Linked DNA regions of Homo sapiens: all the other regions are linked to region 1. Evidence: promoter capture Hi-C in 16 types of primary human blood cells and fetal thymus (Javierre and others, 2016). All regions are on one chromosome and are shown on one strand. The core of a region is centred on a gene start or on the middle of the fragment in contact, and the rest is flanking DNA. Distances in the headings are between cores, read along the strand shown. Region 1 holds the start of TMEM68 (transmembrane protein 68). Region 2 holds the start of RAB2A (RAB2A, member RAS oncogene family). Region 3 overlaps PCMTD1 (protein-L-isoaspartate (D-aspartate) O-methyltransferase domain containing 1). Region 4 overlaps RB1CC1 (RB1 inducible coiled-coil 1).

Region 1 (4,678 bases), core at 1,148-3,647:
CCCTGTTTCTACAAAAAATACAAAATTATCCAGGTGTGGTGGCGCATGCCTGTAAACCCAGCTACTCAGGAGGCTGAGGCAGAAAATCGCTTGAACCCAGGAGGCGGAAGTTGCGGTGAGCCAAGATCGCACCATTGCACTCCAGCCTAGGCAACAAAAATGAATCTCCGTCTCCAAAAAAAAAAAAAAGTTGACAAGCTCAAATATCACCATATTGACATTGATGGTGAGGATATGGACCTTACAGATGTTTAAAATCAGAGTATTTCAAAAACTAATAAATCAGAACAGAGAACTTTTTGGCTTTCAATAAAACCTTAAGAAAGTGTATCTATTTTAGGCTGGGCTCAGTGGCTCATGCCTATAATCCTAACACTTTGGGAGGCTGAGGCAGGCAAATCACTTGAACCCAAGAATTCAAGACCAGTCTGGGCAATATGGCAAAACCTTGTCTCTACAAAACACACACACACACACACACACACAAAATTAGGCAGGCATGGTGGCATGCCTGTAGCCCCAGCTACTCGGGGGGCTGAGGTAGGAGGATTGCTTGAGCCTGGGAGGTAGAGGTTGCTGTGAGCCGCGATCGCGCCACTACACTACAGCCTGGGTGACAGAGCAAGATCCTGTCTCAAAAAAAATAAATAAATAAATAAATAAAGTATATCTATTTTGAACACCCATTACCAGTACTTTTCCATTTTACTTTTAGTATATAAGTCACATTGAGAACATTCTGAAAATGCCAATTAAAAGATATAGTCACTGAAAAACAAGTTTTCCTGTTTCCTTTCTGCATATTTAATAATGGTTTAACAGAGATACAGCACTGTTTTACTGAATAGGACTTCTACTTCAAACCATGAATAAAGCTGCAATTTAGTATTTGTCAAGATAGCTGGTAAATCTAATCCTTTTAGCTTTAATACTTTTTTTATTTCAAGCTTTAAACTCGAGGTTCTGATACAAATTACCCTTCAAGACTTTTCTTTAATCCTAGAATGCCCAACTTCTAGCTAAAATCTTCCACTCTGTTTCATAATTACTGTTCTACCCTTATTATCGTAACCCAGCTACTCATCCCAATAATGCTGCACATCTATACTGGTATATCTGTAACCGTGCAGCACTCTTACCTTCTTGAACCAACAAAATCAGCCTATCTCCGACCTCAAAGTAGGGCAGCAGTAAGGAGGTGGGAATAAACATTTGAAAATGAATATTTCCACTAACTAGTAAATGTGGCCAAAATACTATTGAAAATACCATTCAAAATGCATGAATTTTAGCTCAGTTTTTATATAGTTCTGAAGAAGTACCAATACTATTTTGGCATTTCGTAGCACCAACCACGTCCGAAGCGCTCCAACTTTCAAGTCTGAGCTTGTCTCTGAAGAAGTTGCCCGTGCAGCCTCCATGAATACCACACACCAAATACTAACTGCTTTTTAACAGATCCAGCAACGCTGCTGTTTCCATTTTCTCCATCCTATTTATGCCCACATGAACTTTTTTCTTATTAGATAATTAGTAACTTGAAGGCAGAGACCTGTTTTACAGGCTGCAAACCCCAGGGACCGAGACAGCACTTAACGCCTACAAGGTCCAAACCGACGCCAACGATTAAGCGCACAAAGGAAAGGTGTAATATACATCATTTCGTTTAGTCCTCCCTGCAGCCTCATGTAGTAGTTACTATTAATCAACCCCATTTCACAGGTGATCAAAGGTAAGCTCAGAAAGGTGAAGTTGCCTGCCCAGGTCACAAGGTAGGACCAGGATTCCAAGCCTGATCGGTCTGGATACGAACGCTCTACCCACGCGGCTTTCCCCCTACACTCTCGGGATCACCACACACTTCCCCTTGGCTTTTACACCGGAGGCTCGACCTGGGTCCCGGAACCAGCGAAGCCACTGGGCAAGCCTAGAGGCCTCTACAGAGGCTAGAGACGCCTCGCCCCACCAGATGCATTAGGATGAAACGCGCCGAACCGAAGGTTTAGAGCGCCAGGGGAGAAGAGGGGCGGGGAGAGCAGGCTCTTTGACCCAGAGGAGGGAGGATCTCCACACCCGGCCACTCTGGCGCTGGGGCGCAACACTGAGGCCGGCGGGAAGCCGAGCCTGCCCGCGAAGAGACTGGGGATTCCGAGGCGGCTCCTGGGAGACCGGACGCGCGCGGCCTCCGCCGCTCCCAGTCCCGCCAGACCCGATGCCGGGCTGGAGAAGCGCGGGGGCCGACGCACCTCGGATAGGCGGGGGCAGGGGCAGGGGCAGCTCTCCTTTACCCTAGAGCGGCGACAGAAGCTCTTCGGGGGATCAGTGGCCAAGGGGGCGGACAGATTTGCACGGCGGATTCCTCCGAAGCAACCCGTGTGAAAGAAGCCAAGCGGCGGCTGCAGCCCGGGCCGCGATGGGGGTGACACCGCCCGTGGTCCCGCCCCTTCCCGTGGCCCCTCGGAGCCACTTCCGGCGGCAGCGTCCGGGCTAGTTCCCGGCGCGAGCGGCCGCGGGCCAGTTTCTATCTCCTCATCCAGGGCTTGCGGGCGAGGCCTGTTTTAAGTCTCCAGTAACCGAGCGGAGGCCCGGCAGGCGCGACCCGGGCTGCGTACGTCAGAGCTGCCTCCGAAGTGGTAAAATGTGCTGCGAGAAGTGGAGCCGCGTGGCGGAAATGTTTCTCTTCATTGAGGAGCGGGAGGATTGTAAGATACTGTGCCTTTGCTCCAGGGCATTTGTGGAGTAAGTAGAAAAGAGAATCTCTTCATGTTCTAGCACAGTCATTACCCAGAAATGTAGGTATTGCAAACGTGGTTGTAATTGATCCCTGAAAGCAGCCAGAACATCTGACCCTTGGGCACGGTGATGTTTAAGAAAAACAAAACCCTCAGACATGACGGAGTGGTCGCCCACTGCCATTATTTTTATGTGAAGGACTACATCTACTTGGTAGGCTGCTATGAAAAAATGTCGTAGGTGCTATATGTCATCTCATATTTGTAAATCGAGGGGACATTTAAAAATTGGGGGAAAGCGACATGTAAAATGAAATCTCTAGTAGATATGATGTCATAAAGTGAAAGTTTAAAGTTGAGTGACTTGCTTTGGTTAACGTCTTTTTTTAAACCTAAAAATCTACTTAAGCCCAAATGCACATAATTAAAACTTCAAACTAGTTGAGATAAAAGACTTAACCATATTTACATCAGTTTTTGTGATATCTTTATTTTGGGGAAATCTTTGAATCAGGTAAAAATTGCCCCACATGAAAAATAGCTAGTATGCAGGAATAATACCGCCAAGAGACTTGAATTCTAGGAATTGTTTCCTTTATATTAAATGCGTGAGTTAAACCACTTGAACCTTTTTTTCATCTCTATAACGGGTATATTTAATCTCACATGCTTATTTTGTTAGAGTTAAATCCTTGTGGAAGTGAATTTTATGTGATAGACTTTTAATATAGTTTAATATAGTAGGATTTAAGTTTGAAGGAATTCATTTTTCTCGTGTAATTTTGTGGAGTAATTTGAAAACGCAAAAAGAAGTTAAACTTGTTAAATTTAATGTAAAAAGTATTGTCGCCTTTTTAGTCAGGCATGCATGTAGTCATACAATCATTCAGAAAATGTTTTTTGTGCTCTTGTATATCAAGTATGCTGGTAGGCACTGAGGTACAAGACATTCTGTCCTTACATGTATTGAGTTTACTTCCTAGCAGAGAAGATCAATATTAAGATAACTGGTTACATTATTACTTGGTTGATTATAGTTATAAGTGCTATGAGAGAGAAGTGCAGGATGCTGTGAAAACAAATAACTTTCCAAGGGTCACAGAGGTTTCTTTGAGGAAGTAGCTTTTGGAAAGAGGTCTAAGGGGGATAAATTGGGGTGAGTTTCAGTGGGAGAAAGCGTTCTCTGCAGGCTGAACTCAGTAAAGGCCTTGAGGGAGCAAAAGAAAGCCTGGGAAACTGAACAAAATGGCTGGGAGGGAGGGCACGGTGGTGCACACCTGTAATCCCACCACTTTAGGAGGCCGAGGAGTGAGGATCACTTGAGCCCGGAAGTTGGAGACTAGCCTGGGCAACATAACAACACCTCATCTGTACTGAAATTTTTTTTTAAAATTAGCCAGCTGTGGTGGCACATGCTTGTAGTCCCAGCTACTCTGGAGGCTTGGGCCAGATGCTCTCTTGAGCCCAGGAGATCCAGGCTGCAGTTAGCCATTGTCGTGCCTGGATGACAGAGCAAGACTCTGTCCCGAAAAAAAAAAAGAAAAGAAAAGAAAGAAAAGAAAAAAAACTGGGAAAGAAAGAAGATAGGGTGTGCACAGTAGGCAGGGTCAAAACCCGCAGGACTTTGTAGACTATAGGAAAACCTTAAGCTGGGGAATGACATGATCAGATTTGCATATTTAAAATACTACTCAGGCGGCAGTGTGGAGGATTGTTTGGAGGAAGAGAACCACTTAAGACCATTGTTTAGGCAAGAGATTATAGTGACTTGGATTAGGATAAATGGCAGCAGAAATGGAGAAAGAAAGAAAGATGGGAGAAAACTTGCTGGGGGTGGGGACTGAATTGTATTGCTGCCTTTCACTGAGGTAGGGATCACTGGAGAATCATGAATTTTATTTTGGGTCAACGGAGAAGAGATTATGAGTTTGATTTTATACATTTTG
Region 2 (4,678 bases), core at 699-3,198, 4.7 Mb after region 1:
CCATCACCAAGGAAGACTTGGGTGAAGGCACTCAAGTGGGAGGGACAAAATGACATCTGAAAACTGGAGGCCTTGGGCAGGGACCTCCCCTTCCTCAAACTAAAGGTGAATGAACCAAATTTTGCGATTCCAGGTAGCTTTTCATGTCAAATTTTCATGTCAAATTCTTCCGTGCCATCTCTGACCCTTTAGTAAAATCCCCTCCAAATATTCCAGAAAAACCTTGTGAGTTCATATTTGGCAAGGCCATCCAAAGCATGTTAGCAACCCAGCATGATGGTGTCAGTACTAATTACATAATGAGAGGCCCCAAAGAGAAGAGTATTAGGCAACAGGAACGAGGGCCACTAAATCCCAATCGCTTTTCCCCAGCAATGATTCTCCTTCAATATGAGGTTATGGGTTATGAGGATATGAGTTAGTCAATTAGCTTCCTTATGCAACTTCAAATTCCCTGAACAGATCCAGGAATTTTGCACATTCTGTTCCTTGTCCATAAACTTTGGTTCCCCTCCCCAAACTGTTGTTCTTTCGACAAACTCTATACATAATTCATATTCCTGGCTCAGAAATCATAATCTCTAAGTAACCTTTCCTGACACCCTATTCTCCACCTCCTCTTCCATAACCTGTGGTCTTTTTGAACAGAGTGGTGACATTTTGGGCTGGATGACTGAAAAAGCAAAGTAGAAAAACAGAACATAGAACATACAGGGCCTCCAGTTGCTGTGCCTGGCGGTACATGAAACATAGTATTCAATAACTATTCTTTGAATGCACAGTCATTTTGTTTTTTCCTTTAACAGTATTTCCTAATAGGTAACTCATGAACACTGCAAAAAATGTCAAACTGCACAAAAAAATTCAGGGAAAAGTACATTTTCCCCCCAATCCCATTCCCTCCTTTCTCTTAATACCAGTTAGCTTTCCTTTCAGATTGATTATGCATATATGGGTATGTAAATGTTTTCCCACTATTTGTTACACATAAAAATTATATACAATTCATATATTACATATGGTGCATGTTATATACACACACATAAACAGATCATCTCGGTTTTGCTTAACCTAAGTCAGGCTTTTTTTTTTTTTTTTTTTTTAGAGCAGCCCTCAGAACCAGGACAGGTTCAGAGACTTTATTTATTTTTTATTTACTATTATTATTTTGAGACGGAGTCCCGCTCTGTCGCCCAGTCTGGAGTGCCGTGGTTCAATCTCGGCTCACTACAACCTCCACCTCCCAGGTTCAAGTGATTCTCCTGCCTTAGACTCCGAGTAGCTGGGATTACAGGCGAGCACCACCACGCCCGGCTAATGTATTTTTAGTAGAGACGCGGTTTCGCCATGTTGGCCAGGCTGGTCTCGAACTCCTGACCTCAGGTGAGAGCAACGTAGTACTCCACTGTGCGTGCATACCATGATTTACTTTGCAGTCCCAGATTTACGGTTTCCAATTTATAAATACTGCCATTTTCACCTTCAAGCCCCGATGCCAAACACAGAAATACCAGGCCACCCCCACCCCCTCGCCGTGTGCCTCCCACATTTTCACACACATTTTCAGGAGCCCAGGGCGCAGCCTCACACCGAACGCCGCCTCTGCCGTCCCCTCACTTGCCCCGTGCCCCCACCGCAGGGCTGAAGGCGACGGAACCGAGCCTTTGTACCCCCACCAGCCCCGTTCCCTGGCGTCTCCCGGCCGCCGGGCTCGCCCGCTCAAACGTGGCGGAACAACCGGAGCCGGGCCCCGCCCTGCTGGAAGACAGGGCGGACCGGGCAAGGCAGGCGCGGGGCGGGGCGGGGCGGGGCTCCGGCTGGCGGGGCGCGGCCAGCGTGCAGGGCTGGGCCAGCGTGCGGGGCTCCTCCCCTTTCCTCCGGCGGCGCCGGCGGCCGCAGAACTTCCGGGTCGGCGCGGAGGCGGGGCGGAGGCGCCGCGGCGGCTGTTATTGTTCGGCTGGGCTCGGTCGGGCGCTGTCTCCCTCGGCTCTGCGGGTGTCAGTTCGTCCGGCTTCCTCACAGCCCCTCACTCCCGGCGGCTGACAGCAGCAGCGGCGGCGGCGGGCGGCGCCTGGCGTTTCGAGGCTGAGCGGCACCGGGGTTGGGGCGCGGAGGAGGAGCAGCAGCGGGAGGAGGAGCCGTGTGCCCTGGCACTGAGCGGCCGCGGCCATGGCGTACGCCTATCTCTTCAAGTACATCATAATCGGCGACACAGGTGAGGGCCCCGGGCGCGGCCGGGCGGGTGTCGGCGGCCTCCGGACCCGGGCTGAGGGGCAAACGGCGTCTGGCGGTGGCGGGGACGCGGACTCCACCCGGCGCCTCCCTCCTGGCCGCGCCGCTCCATTTCCGCAGTGCTGGAGCTGGTGACGTGGGCACTGCGAGCGGCCGCGGCCTGGCCAGGCCCGGTCTGCGGCCCCCGACCCGGCCAGTCTTGCAGCTGAGGGCCGTGGCAGCCGTTTGCGACGCCCGATTCAGGAAGTGTGTGACAGGAGGGGAGGCCTAGCGCAGGGCCGCCGGGGCCCGACTCACATGACTGCACCCCACCCCCAGGGCCCCTTGCGTTAGGTCTCTTCGCGGCCCCAGGAAAAAGAAGGAGGGAAACCTAGGGGAGCAGAAGGTGTTGGGGCCCGGGTCTTGGTTCCTGACCAGTCCAACCTTCCTCCACCAGCACGCATCTATCAAGGCCTGGGCAAGGCGCTTTTTGGCGTGGGACAGGCAGCCGAGAAAGAGAAAAGGAAACCTTTAAAATATGTATTTTATATATATACATATATATAAAATATGCTTTTTTAACACCTTCAACTCTCACGTCAGAATAAGTCACATCTCATTACTTGACGGCTGGAGAATCCCTTTCGGGGTTAGGAAAGCATGAACGAGTTCTGTGGACTTTTGCCACGTGTGAACTGGGGTTATATAGTAATGTAAAGTCGTTCAGTGCTCTGGGTGTGTACTTAGGTATGTGTATGTTGAGGACGCTGATGTTTTAGATATGTCAAGTCCGGTGTCACAACTGCTAATTTTCAGGTGAGCTCATGTCCATGAGCTGAAAGAAATTCAGTTATTCTCACTTAAAATGACGTCCTAGTATATTTCACAGAAAAGTAAACAGACTCTTCGTAGATATTTTTAATACCTGTGATTTGGCATTACTTTGAATCTAATAATAAACATAAAGATTGTTTAGATGTTGCAACTATTAATATACCAGAGTCTGATTTCAGTGGTTACTCTTGCACAACTTTGGACCCTTTGCACAACTTCGGTCATGTAAGCAGCAGTTTGTAGTTGAACTAATGATGTGGCAGGTTCTATAAGTAACTAAAGAAGCATGTTGGCCGGACGCGGTGGCTCACACCTGTAATCCCAGCACTTTCGGAGGCCGAGGTGGGGGATCACCTGAGATCAGGAGTTCGAGACCTGCTTGGCCAACGTGGTGAAACCCCGTCTCTACTAAAAGTACAAAAGTTAGCCGGGCGTCGTGGCAGGCGCCTGTAATCCCAGCCACTTGGGAGGCTGAGGCGGGAGGATCACTTGAGCCCGGAAGGTGGAGTTTGCAAAAAAAAAAAAAAAAAAAAAAAAAAAGCATATTTATTGCTGCCTGAAAGAAAAAATTTCTGCTAGATACATGAGTTTTCAGCAAGGTTTTCTGATGCGTGCGTGCGTGTGTGTGTGTGTGGAAATTGGATTTGTAAACTTTAAAAGAAAAATGCTGTGGTGTATTTGGAAGAAGGAGAATTCTAAAGTCTTCTGGCAAAATTTCATTTAGGCTGTAAAAACAAGATTGGAGAGGAATGCCACATTAACTGTAATATGAGTGGGTTTGAGAAATAGAAGCTTGTGACTGTGGCATTTGGCTATCTCATTAGTGGTGAAAATTCAAATCAGACTTTGCTGGTTGCCTTTTTTCAGTTTTTTATTTGAGGCTGTACTGTGGATAAATAAAGTATTGTGCATGGAGTAGTGGGGCTACAAATCCTAACAAGTTAATGCTCTGTTCTCTTGGAATTTGCTCTTATCCAAAAGCAGTCCCCACGCAATTCAAAGGGAAGACACTTCTTTCTTGTCATTGCTGCTGATACGACCTAGTTCAGGAACAGAATTCTTGACACTGTTATAGTCTGCAGCAGTACTTCTCCCTACTCCAGTTCAGCCAGTGTAGTTTACTGTCAGTTTAGTCATCCTGAAGCATGAATGTCAAAAGGCTACTCCTGTTTGCTCACAATTTTTAGTTTGACCTTCAGTGAACTCTATATTTTAGCCCCTATCTACATTTCTCGCCTTCTTTCCCGCTATTCCCCACCTTGCTTCTGCCATTGAGTCCCAGTGACTGATTTTGGTGTTTTTTTCCTGGGCACTGCTAGTCTCTATTCTTAGAGTGCTTTCCGGCACAATCTCTCCCTGTGGAAGATCCATCAGTCCTTCAAAGTCTTATCTGAGTTTTCCGTAATGCCTTCACAGTCAACATATATTAAGCTCTTATTGTGTGAAGATTTTCACAGTATCCTGGCTGAAAGTGACTACTCCGTTTCTGAATTTATGTTTCTCACTTTGTGTCATTCTTCTGATATTGATCCCAGACTTTTCTGTTGTATAGATACTTGTATAGGCACCTCTATTATGTAGGTACCTATTATATACTTCTTGAAGTCAGAAAAGATGTTTTGTATGGCTCTGT
Region 3 (4,678 bases), core at 1,132-3,631, 3.9 Mb before region 1:
TCCACAGGTGCCCCCAAGATTCTACAAAAATGGGAAGAAATCTCACCTGGCAGGACTCAATGCCACCCCCATTTAAACACAGCTGCACTAGTTTTATCAGTTTTATAAATGTCATCTTAATCTTTTGTTGGGGAGAGGCTGTTTAGAAATCATTTCCATAAGGAATCAAATGGCCACAGTATATTTACCTGTATTAGTTTTCTATCACTGTCATAGCAAATTAGCATAAACCTAATGGCTTAAAACCACACAAGTTTATTATCTGATAGTTCTGGAGGTCAGAAGTCTGACACAGGCTTCATGATACAAGTCTCACTGGGTTAAGATCAAGGTGTTGGGGAGACTGTTCCTTTCTGAAGGTTCTTTAGGAGAAATCTGTTCCCTCGCATCAGTGTCTAGTGTCCATCTGCTTTTTTTTTTTCTCTCTTGCCTCATGGCCCTTTCTTTCTTCCATCTGCAAAGCAAGAAACATGACGCTGATTCCTTTTCTGCTGTCTCTCTGGTTCTCTCGCTCTGCCTCCTCCTTCCATTTTTAAGGACCCTTATGATTACACTGGGCTTATCGGGATAATCCAGGATAATCTTCCTATCTTAAACTGATTAGCAACTTTAATTCATCTGCAACCTTAATTCCCCTTTGCCATATAAGGTCACATATTCGCAGGTTCCAGGGATTAGAACATGGACCTCTTTGGGGGGCTACTATTTGCCTAGCACACTACCCAAACTTTGACTCCTACTCTTCAGGGTAATGCTGTTCCATAGAGAATCAGATACAATCCATCTTAAAATGTATACCGGCAGCCCAAATCCATCCCTTCTCCCATTTCTCATCCAGCATACAGGTGAAGAAACAATATGGCAGAAAGGATCAGCAGAAGAAATATGCTTATTATTACTTGACAGACTTGGAATTTATTTTCTCTTACAGGTAAATAACGCAAGGTTATATTCTTAAGATAGTCTAAAATCCTCTAACTAAAGCAATAACTATGTATAAACTAACTGAACACCCTGAAACTCAATTTTAAGTAGCAACTAGAAACTGCAAAAAAACAAAACTATCAATCATTTGGTATGGTAATTATCAAGCCATGCAATCATTTTCCTCGTTTAAAATAAATTAAAAAAAAAAAAGAGTACGCTCAGTCCCAATATTTGAGAACAGTTTCACAAAAAAGTTTTCATAATTTCTTTTTTTTTTTTTTTGAGACAGAGTCTTGCTCTGTCACCAGGCTGGAGTGCAGTGGCACGATCTCAGCTCACTGCAACCTCTGCCTCCCGGGTTCAAGCGATTCTCCTGCCTCAGCCTCTCAAGTAGCTGGGATTACAGGCACGTGCCAACCACACTCAGCTAATTTTTTTGTATTTTTAGTAGAGACGGAGTTTCACCATGTTGGCCAGGATGGTCTCAATCTCTTGACCTCGTGATCCGCCCACCTCGGCCTCCAAAAGTGCTGGGATTACAGGCATGAGCCACCGTGCCCGGCCAAGTTTTCATAATTTCTAATATCTTACTCTATTAGAAGAAACTGTGCCTAAATATAAACTTCAAGTTTAAAACTGTTTAGAGTTCATTCCTAACTCCTGACCTTACTTTTAGGGTAGTAGAAAGCTACCATATAGATTCATTCTGAGTGCTTACAGAAGTTCAGTTCAATAGAGTAAGACCCTGTATATGATGGTCCATACCTTTCCTTAGCTGTTGACATCCAACAGGATATAGTAGCAGATTCAAAATTGTCAATTCAATGCAGGAGGATTCCAGGTTGGCCTCAAGAGGGAGCATCCTTTTAAAAATAGATTCCCCTTCAGGTAAATGACTTTTGTGTATCACAAAAAAATGAATGGGAAGATACACTAGATAACAAAATATTAAGACATTTAGGAGCAGGACCTGATTTTCGTAATGCTCCCACAGTAGAAGGCACTAAAGGGTATGAAAACAAACAAGCAGGCCCTGACCTTTATAAATAAGCTTTGGGTTAACAATGAGAAAGAGACCCAGAATCAAATATATGCATGAAAGTCTGAACTCATAGCCTTTATTTTACCATTGGCCATTAACCTTTCTATGACCTACTTAGTTTTAAGAATCAAATGAAATAATGTGCACATTCAAATTTAGTCATTTTTATCTAGCACCGAGTAAAACAAATTAATGTTACTGGTAACTGAAAAATACTCCTTTAAGTTGCAAAGATTAAAAACAAAGTAATGAAAGTCTTTATATAGTGTATTAGTTCTACAGTCTTAGCAAATTATCCCGCATAACTCAACCATTTCTTAGTGGCTGAGGGTCATTATGAGGAACAGTATGATAATGGTATGTCACGAGCACCTCAGAGACCAACACACACAGTAAAAGCATTCCACCATCTGGAACTGCTTTGCTCTCTCACTGCAGTAACTTCTCGTTTCTTTTTTGTGTGACTAGATGATTCAAATCTGCTTTATTTTACACACAACTATGGTGGGTCTAGTGTGACTCCAAAGTCTGTCCCTGACTATATAGGACACATTCTCCTTGCTTTTCCTAGGCCTTTTGTTGTTATTGTTAACTCCTCACTCACTGCCTACAATATTGGTAAGAGAGCATGAGGTTATCAGTCCAAGTTTGGCCTCTACTTAAAACGGATATTGCTTCTAGGTTAGGTCCGTCACTTTCTATCAAGTGTTAACTGACCTCATAATCTCTGAAAAGTAGTATACGACTCACAAAATAATATATAACCTTTATTACTGATTATTAATGCAACTATCATTAATTGAGCACTTACAGCATAAAGCTTTGAGGTGTTTTAAGTATATTAACTCATTTAAGTCTTCATAAAATTTCATGTAACAGCATTATTTTTAGGGATGGGAAACGAAGGAAAGGGATTAAATAACTTCCTTAAGCTTTTACAGCTAGTAGGAGGCAAAACTGAGGTTGAGTTCTAGATCTATCTGACACCAAACCCTGTGTCCCTCAACACTGTTGATTGCTGAGTCTGGTATCATCATTTTATAGAAAATAAAGCAGACTGAGGAAACTGAAGTCATTCTGAGTCTTAGTTCATGCATCTATAAAATGGGAATAACAATACTTTCCTACCTCTTTGACAAGATGCAAAGTTATACGAAAATGTGAAAATGTGGAAAGTATCAAATTTAACAGGGTCTCATGCTGACTACACAATGCCAGGAAGCACTATTCCCACATAAAGTGTCAGTTTTCCTGAAGCAGTAAAGGGAATGTCATTTATATTAGATTCTATGTTAATAGTGTCTCCTGAGCTGTGCACCACAAATGGCCATATGTAAGGATATACGTGTGTGTGTGTGTGTGTGTGTGTGTGTACACACAAAAATATATATTAGTGTGAAGTGAATTAATTTTATTGTGCTGCCTAGATACAATAAAACCAGTGATAACTAAACAGTGATAACTGAACAAGTCCTTAACAAAAAAAAAAAAAAAAGCTTATATAAAGCCTTTTTGTCATAAATAATGAGGTAATTAAACTACTTTAAGTCCATGGTGATTACCTCCCTTTTCTTTAAAGCCAAATCAACTGCATGAATGGTTATATTCACAGATATTTATATAGATCATTGTAGAAATGCCTACATCTATTTCTAATTTCTCTGGTTCATAAAAGAATAAAGGTTCAAATTACTCTATTTACAGGGAAAAGTCAAGCCTATTAAAAACGGTTTAGATGTATTTAAAATAATTCTTTCACAATGGGATTTACAATGCCTGGTAAATCAGTATATATCACTGCTAGGCTTTTCCTTGAAACTAAAATTAGAGTGACTGCCTTTGCATGTTCCAAAATTTGTTCTTATCCAGTTGAGTATGAAGACTGACCAGAAAATTTAAAATCCGCTCTAGCCGCCAAGACACTACAATGAAAACATGAAAATTTAGAATACCGAGACTTACAGGAGTAACAGGGATAAACCATCCTTCTAAAACAAAGACTGTTTTGCATTTGCTTTTTGAGCTATGACATTTCTAAATAGTTCCTTCTACTCAAGGCCCAGTATTTTAAATATGGACTACAAAGATATAATGATACATAATCAGAACAAAACCTCTGCACTACTTACGCAGTAGCAGTGACAGAGAAGCACCGACTGATCCATCCACCAGCACACCTGTGGCTCCCATAACCAACAGCTAAACACCCATGTGCTTGGCAGTATAAATGTAGAAATCCCCTAATAACATTAAGTCAAGGCCTTAACACAACCTTGGTTACTTAAAACACCACTTCCTAGCACAGATGCATCCAGGTCAGAGAAAATGCAAGCACTCACATTTTCCATACTTCTATCACCAAATACATCTGCCACAGGATTACATGGCAGAAGGACTTACAAAGCTGGACATTTCTAGTGGTGTTTTCATTAACACAGAGGTCCCTCAGAATTAAAAACCATACGAGCCTCAGGTGATAACATCCCCGTTAACCTGTTTCTCCTTTTCTTTATCCATATTTTCTAGTCTTTCCACAATAAATTTCTACTGCTGTTATACAGGGAAAAAAGCAAAATCAAATAAATGAGCTTTTACTTATTATGTTCACAATATCTAGGGAAGTATAATTGACCAAAGAGAATCGCAGGAGCTCAGAAATGGGTCAGTGCAAATGAACCACTGTTAAAAATAAATCTAAACCATATGAAC
Region 4 (4,678 bases), core at 1,493-3,992, 3.1 Mb before region 1:
GAGGATATGGCTTGCTTGAGCCTGGGAGCTGGAGGCTACAGTGAGCTATGATGGCATCACTACACTCCAGGCTGGGTGACCCAGCAAGATCCTCTCTCCAAAAAAATAATAAATTATTACACAACCCTATAAGGTATCAAATTTTAGACATTTAAAAATGTTTTGATCTATACGTATTGATCAGTACAAAAAGCAATTTACAGTATATATTATGTGATTCTGTTTGTGGATTTTATTTTTACAACTAATGCAGGAGGACATATGTATATGCAAGCACTTAAAAAGTCTGGATCAATTTAATAGCAATCTTTTTAACACTGGCTATCTCTGGATGCCAGACTTTTACTTTCTCCCAGTTCTTTTAAAAATCACATTTATAATTAGAGGGGAAAAACACATATCCATTAAAAAAAAAAGATGACACCCTATACATTACAAAGAAATAAAGAACCTGAATTTGTTGCACCAAAAGAGTTAGTCCCACCAAGAGAGCAAGACAAAGATTCCCACCAGCCTTCCCTATTTCAGTCCCAATCTGAGGTCCTAGGGGAGTTCTGCCCCACTCCCATTCTAAATATAGCCTTCCCTAAATGGTCATTCATGTTTAGTCTTCCAACTGTTATCTTTTTTTTTTTTTTTGAGATGGACTTTCACTCAGTCACCTAGGGGCTGGGTGCAGTGGTGCGATCTCCGCTCACTGCAGCCTTCAGCTCGTTGTAGCCTCCGCCTCCCAGGTTCAAGAGATTCTCCTTTGGGAGGCCGAGGCAGGCGGATCATGAGGTCAGGAGATTGAGACCATCCTGGCTAACACAGTGAAACCCCGTCTCTACTAAAAATACAAAAAATTAGCCGGGCGTGGTGGCAGGCACCTGTAGTCCCAGCTACTCGGGAGGCTGAGGCAGGAGAATGGCGTGAACCCAGGAGGCGGAGCTTGCAGTAAGCCGAGATCTCGCCACTGCACTCTAGCCTGGGCTACAGAACGAGACTCCCTCTGTTTCAAAAAAAAAAAAAAAAGAGAGAGAGAGATTCTCTCTCCTCAGCCTCCAGAGTAGCTGGGATTATAGGCACCCACCACCACACCCAGCTAATTTTTTTTGTATTTTTAGTAGAGACAGGGTTTCGCCATGCTGGCCAGGCTGGTCTCAAACTCCTGACCCCAAGTGATCTGTCTGCCTCAGCCTCCCAAAGTTCTGGGAATACAGGCATGAGTCACCACGCCCCAATTGTTATCTTTATGTAAACATAAGAGGGAGAACAGAACTGTGAAAAGAACATGAGATTTGGAATCAAAAGAAGTATATTCAAGTCCTGGCCCAATGTGACCTGAACTGACTTCACCTAACAAGTTTTTTCATTTGATTACAAAAAGTAAAAGTACCTGTCTCACAGGGTTGTGGTCAGGATCTAACGAATAATCTATACATATATGGAAGTTATGTAAACCATAAAGTGAAATACAAACATCAATTACTGTTATTAACTAATCCAGATCTCTGTTCTGAGTTTAGAGCTAGCAGTAACTGATGCTTCATATTTCCAGCTGGAAATCCTACTGTTACCTCAAACTCAACATGTCCAAATTTAAATTCGGTGCTTTTCCTTTAAATCTATTCCCTAATTTATTCACTGTCAATGAACTATCATTCTACTATTGCCCCAAACTTCAGTTATTTTTCTTTTCTTTTTCTTTCTTTCTTTTTTTTTTTTTTTTTTTACAAACTTTCCAAAGTGACAATGGACCAGGCTTCAGTTATTTCTGTCCAAGTCCTACCCATTTTTTTCCTTTCTAATCCAACCCCTCATTTTCCAATGACATAACCCTTACTTAGGAAACTGCAACCTCTTCTCTCTGTCTTTAAATCTCTATCCGGCTTCAATCCTTCCTAAATACTCCCTACCAGTTACAACCAAGGTAGTCAGGCTGCTTCCCTCAAGTATCTTCCCTAGCACCTTACTGTTGCCTACAGCAGGGCACAAATCTGTAGTTTCTTTACAGCTACACTCTCTTTGTCACCTCCGGTTCAGTACTCAGACAGTTTCACTTAATTGTACTATCTGCCCACCCCTCTTAGCATGTGAATTTGCCAACTTGATATAGGCTAGATTAACATAAAAATGGCAGACTTAGGAACAAAATTTACTTGTATTTGAATACCATCTATCTCACTGAGGCTCAGGTAACCTCCACATATCAGTTGACAATCTATAAATTGCAACGATACCTTTCACAGAGATGAGAAGGATAGCAATAATGTACTTCAGAGTCCTTTACGGTGCTAGGAATATACTAAAAGCTTTAAAAATGGTGGCAATTATGACTTTAATTAAACTCCAGCACTCAAGAACTTCATAATTAACCCCAGTTTATTTTTGTAGCAGTATCATCAACTACTCCCTTACATGACAAACCTATACCCTCACTTTACATACTCCTGCCAGGTAAAATACCCCCATCTTTGCTGATCTGAATTTTACTCATCTTTAAAAGTCAAAGTATTGCCGGGCACACTGGCTCACGCCTGTAATCCCAGCACTTTGGGAGGCTGAGGCGGGTGGATCACAAGGTAAGGAGATCGAGACCATCCTGGCTAACACAGTGAAACCCCGTCTCTGCTAAAAATACAAAAAAATTAGCCGGGCATGGTGGCGGATGCCTGTAGTCCCAGCTGCTTGGGAGGCTGAGGTGGGAGAATGGCGTGAACCCAGGAGGCGGAGCTTGCAGTAAGTTGAGATCACACCACTGCACTCCAGCCTGGGCAACAGAGCGAGACTCGTCTCAAAAACAAACAAACAAACAAACAAACAAAAGTCCAAGTATTGTCCTATTACCACTTCTGGGAAGTCTTCCCTTATCACAGGTGGCCTATAGTATTCTTTCTCCTTTCTCTGAATTTACAGAACTCTTAAGTAGTTAATATAAGGTAGCAGGAATTCTCTTATCTGGGGGGAAAAACCTATCTCTCATTATGAGGACATCTGGTCCTCCTAAATCCTCCTAGGATACAGTCAGCTATAAATGAAGGGGAGAAGAGAGCTGTATTTTAAAAAATATTGATCCGACAGGGTGGTGGACATTATCTCCATTGATGCGGTAGTAGCCCGTGACCCCTCAATGAGGGAGAATTGCTAATAACTGCAGTTTACAGAACTAGGGATCAGGCAAAATTATTTCTAATCATCTTTTCTCTCTGAAGCTTTTAGTCCACTTTATATGCCACCCAGCACTTTGGGAGGCAGAGGCGGACAGATCACCTGAGGTCGCGAGTTTGAGACCAGCCTGACCAACATGGATAAACCCCATTTCTACTAAAAACACAAAATTATCTGAGTGTGGTAGCACATGCCTGTAATCCCAGCTACTCAGGAGGCTGAGGCAGGAGACTCGCTTGAACCCGGGAGTCAGAGGTTGCGGTCAGCTGAGATCATGCCATTGCACTCCAGCCTGGGCAACAAGAGTGAAACTCCATCTCAAAAAAATAAATAAAAATAAAAATATATTGATCCCACTGCATTTGTTTCCAGATGTACAGGAATAACAACTGAACCCATATATATCCATATTTGAGGAAAAGAACCAGAAAGTATCTCACATACTCATTAAAATCTATCCAACTTATCAAGTGGAGATTTACAATTTTCTCGAGAGATTATCATGATGATAAAGTCAATTATCCCAGCCTTACTGTCAACTATTCTAATACAGTCAAAACTTAGAATTAGGCCAGACACAGTGGCTCCTGCCTGTAATCCCAGCACTTTGGGAGGCCGAGGTGGGTGGCTCACTTCAGGCCAGGAGTTCAAGACCAGCCTGGGAAACATGGTGAAACCCCGTCTCTACTAAGAATACAAGAATTAGTTGGCAGTGGTAGTGCATGCCTGTAATCCCACCTACTGGGAGGCTGAAGTGGGAGGATCATCTGAGCCCACGAGGCAGTGGTTGTAGTGAGCCTAGATCACACCATTGCCTGTCGCCTGCCTGGGCGACAAAGTAAGACTCTGCCTTAAAAAACAAAAACAAACAAACAAAACAGAATTCGCTTCCTTATATGATAAGGTGAAAGGGGGACACCCCAATGACAATCTCTGACCTTCAAAACTGGACACATTCATTATTCATCCACTATTTTGGGGGCATCTAAACATAAGCCAGACACTGCTAGGTGCCTGGAATACAAATATCTTCAAGATGCTTTCCAGCTGAATAGAACACATGAGACTCAGATAACCCTAAAGTGGACTAAAAGCTTCAGAGAAAAGATGATTGGAAATAATTTTGCCTGATCTCTAATTCTGTAAACTGCAATTATTAGCAATTCTCCCTCATTGAGGGGTCACGGGCTACTGCATCAATGGAGATAATGTCCACCACAAACGGAGTGTCTAGGTTGCCCAGGGACTGAAAACTGGGCATCAGTCTCCCCAAATCAGATGTATTCTAATCTGATCCTACCCCTTCTCTGCCAAGAAAAAGAATGAAAGATGAGTAGGTCAGGCATTTTCCTCACATTTCCCTGAAAGAAAACCTTTTTCATAAAAGTTCAGACTTCCTAAATATACGCCTTGTCTACAAACTAGACAAGCAACTTCGCCAAAAGAATGAAGCGAGCATTTAGAAAGGTAGTGCCCAAAGACAGCAAATGAGGTAAAAATAGCAGAACAGGAATACTTTTAAAACAAA

The links. Contacts are between HindIII fragments. The CHiCAGO score rates a contact against its expected background, and 5 or more counts as called.
Region 2: a contact is called between the fragment with the promoter of RAB2A here and the fragment with the promoter of TMEM68 in region 1, in 1 of 17 cell types (non-activated CD4 T cells). The highest score is 6.0, in non-activated CD4 T cells.
Region 3: a contact is called between a fragment that was not itself captured here and the fragment with the promoter of TMEM68 in region 1, in 1 of 17 cell types (non-activated CD4 T cells). The highest score is 6.0, in non-activated CD4 T cells.
Region 4: a fragment that was not itself captured here is called in contact with the fragment with the promoter of TMEM68 in region 1 in 1 of 17 cell types (total CD4 T cells); the score reaches 7.9 in total CD4 T cells.

Annotation. Positions count from the first base shown.
Region 1 is chr8:55,770,981-55,775,658 of GRCh38, forward strand. It overlaps TMEM68 (transmembrane protein 68), which reads right to left and starts at 2,398. Exons shown (of 8, transcript NM_001286657.2): 1 at 2,289-2,398. TGS1 (trimethylguanosine synthase 1) reads left to right here and starts at 2,466. Exons shown (of 13, transcript NM_024831.8): 1 at 2,466-2,739. The coding sequence starts at 2,639. RefSeq lists enhancers at 1,300-1,803, 2,575-2,904 and silencers at 2,025-2,154, 2,245-2,434. The HindIII fragment of the contact is 10,724 bases long and covers 946-4,678 here.
Region 2 is chr8:60,515,039-60,519,716 of GRCh38, forward strand. RAB2A (RAB2A, member RAS oncogene family) reads left to right here and starts at 1,949. Exons shown (of 8, transcript NM_002865.3): 1 at 1,949-2,215. The coding sequence starts at 2,170. It overlaps LOC124901949 (a long non-coding RNA gene), which reads left to right. Exons shown (of 3, transcript XR_007060922.1): 3 at 1-1,760. RefSeq lists enhancers at 1,097-1,957, 3,193-3,382 and a silencer at 1,533-2,402. The HindIII fragment of the contact is 4,226 bases long and covers 1-3,835 here.
Region 3 is chr8:51,886,552-51,891,229 of GRCh38, forward strand. All of the region lies in intron 1 of PCMTD1 (protein-L-isoaspartate (D-aspartate) O-methyltransferase domain containing 1), which reads right to left. Among named protein-coding and RNA genes, the nearest start is that of PCMTD1, 10 kb to the right of the region's middle. The HindIII fragment of the contact is 811 bases long and covers 1,977-2,787 here.
Region 4 is chr8:52,705,738-52,710,415 of GRCh38, forward strand. All of the region lies in intron 1 of RB1CC1 (RB1 inducible coiled-coil 1), which reads right to left. Among named protein-coding and RNA genes, the nearest start is that of RB1CC1, 6.4 kb to the right of the region's middle. RefSeq lists silencers at 1,904-1,953, 1,964-2,123. The HindIII fragment of the contact is 900 bases long and covers 2,293-3,192 here.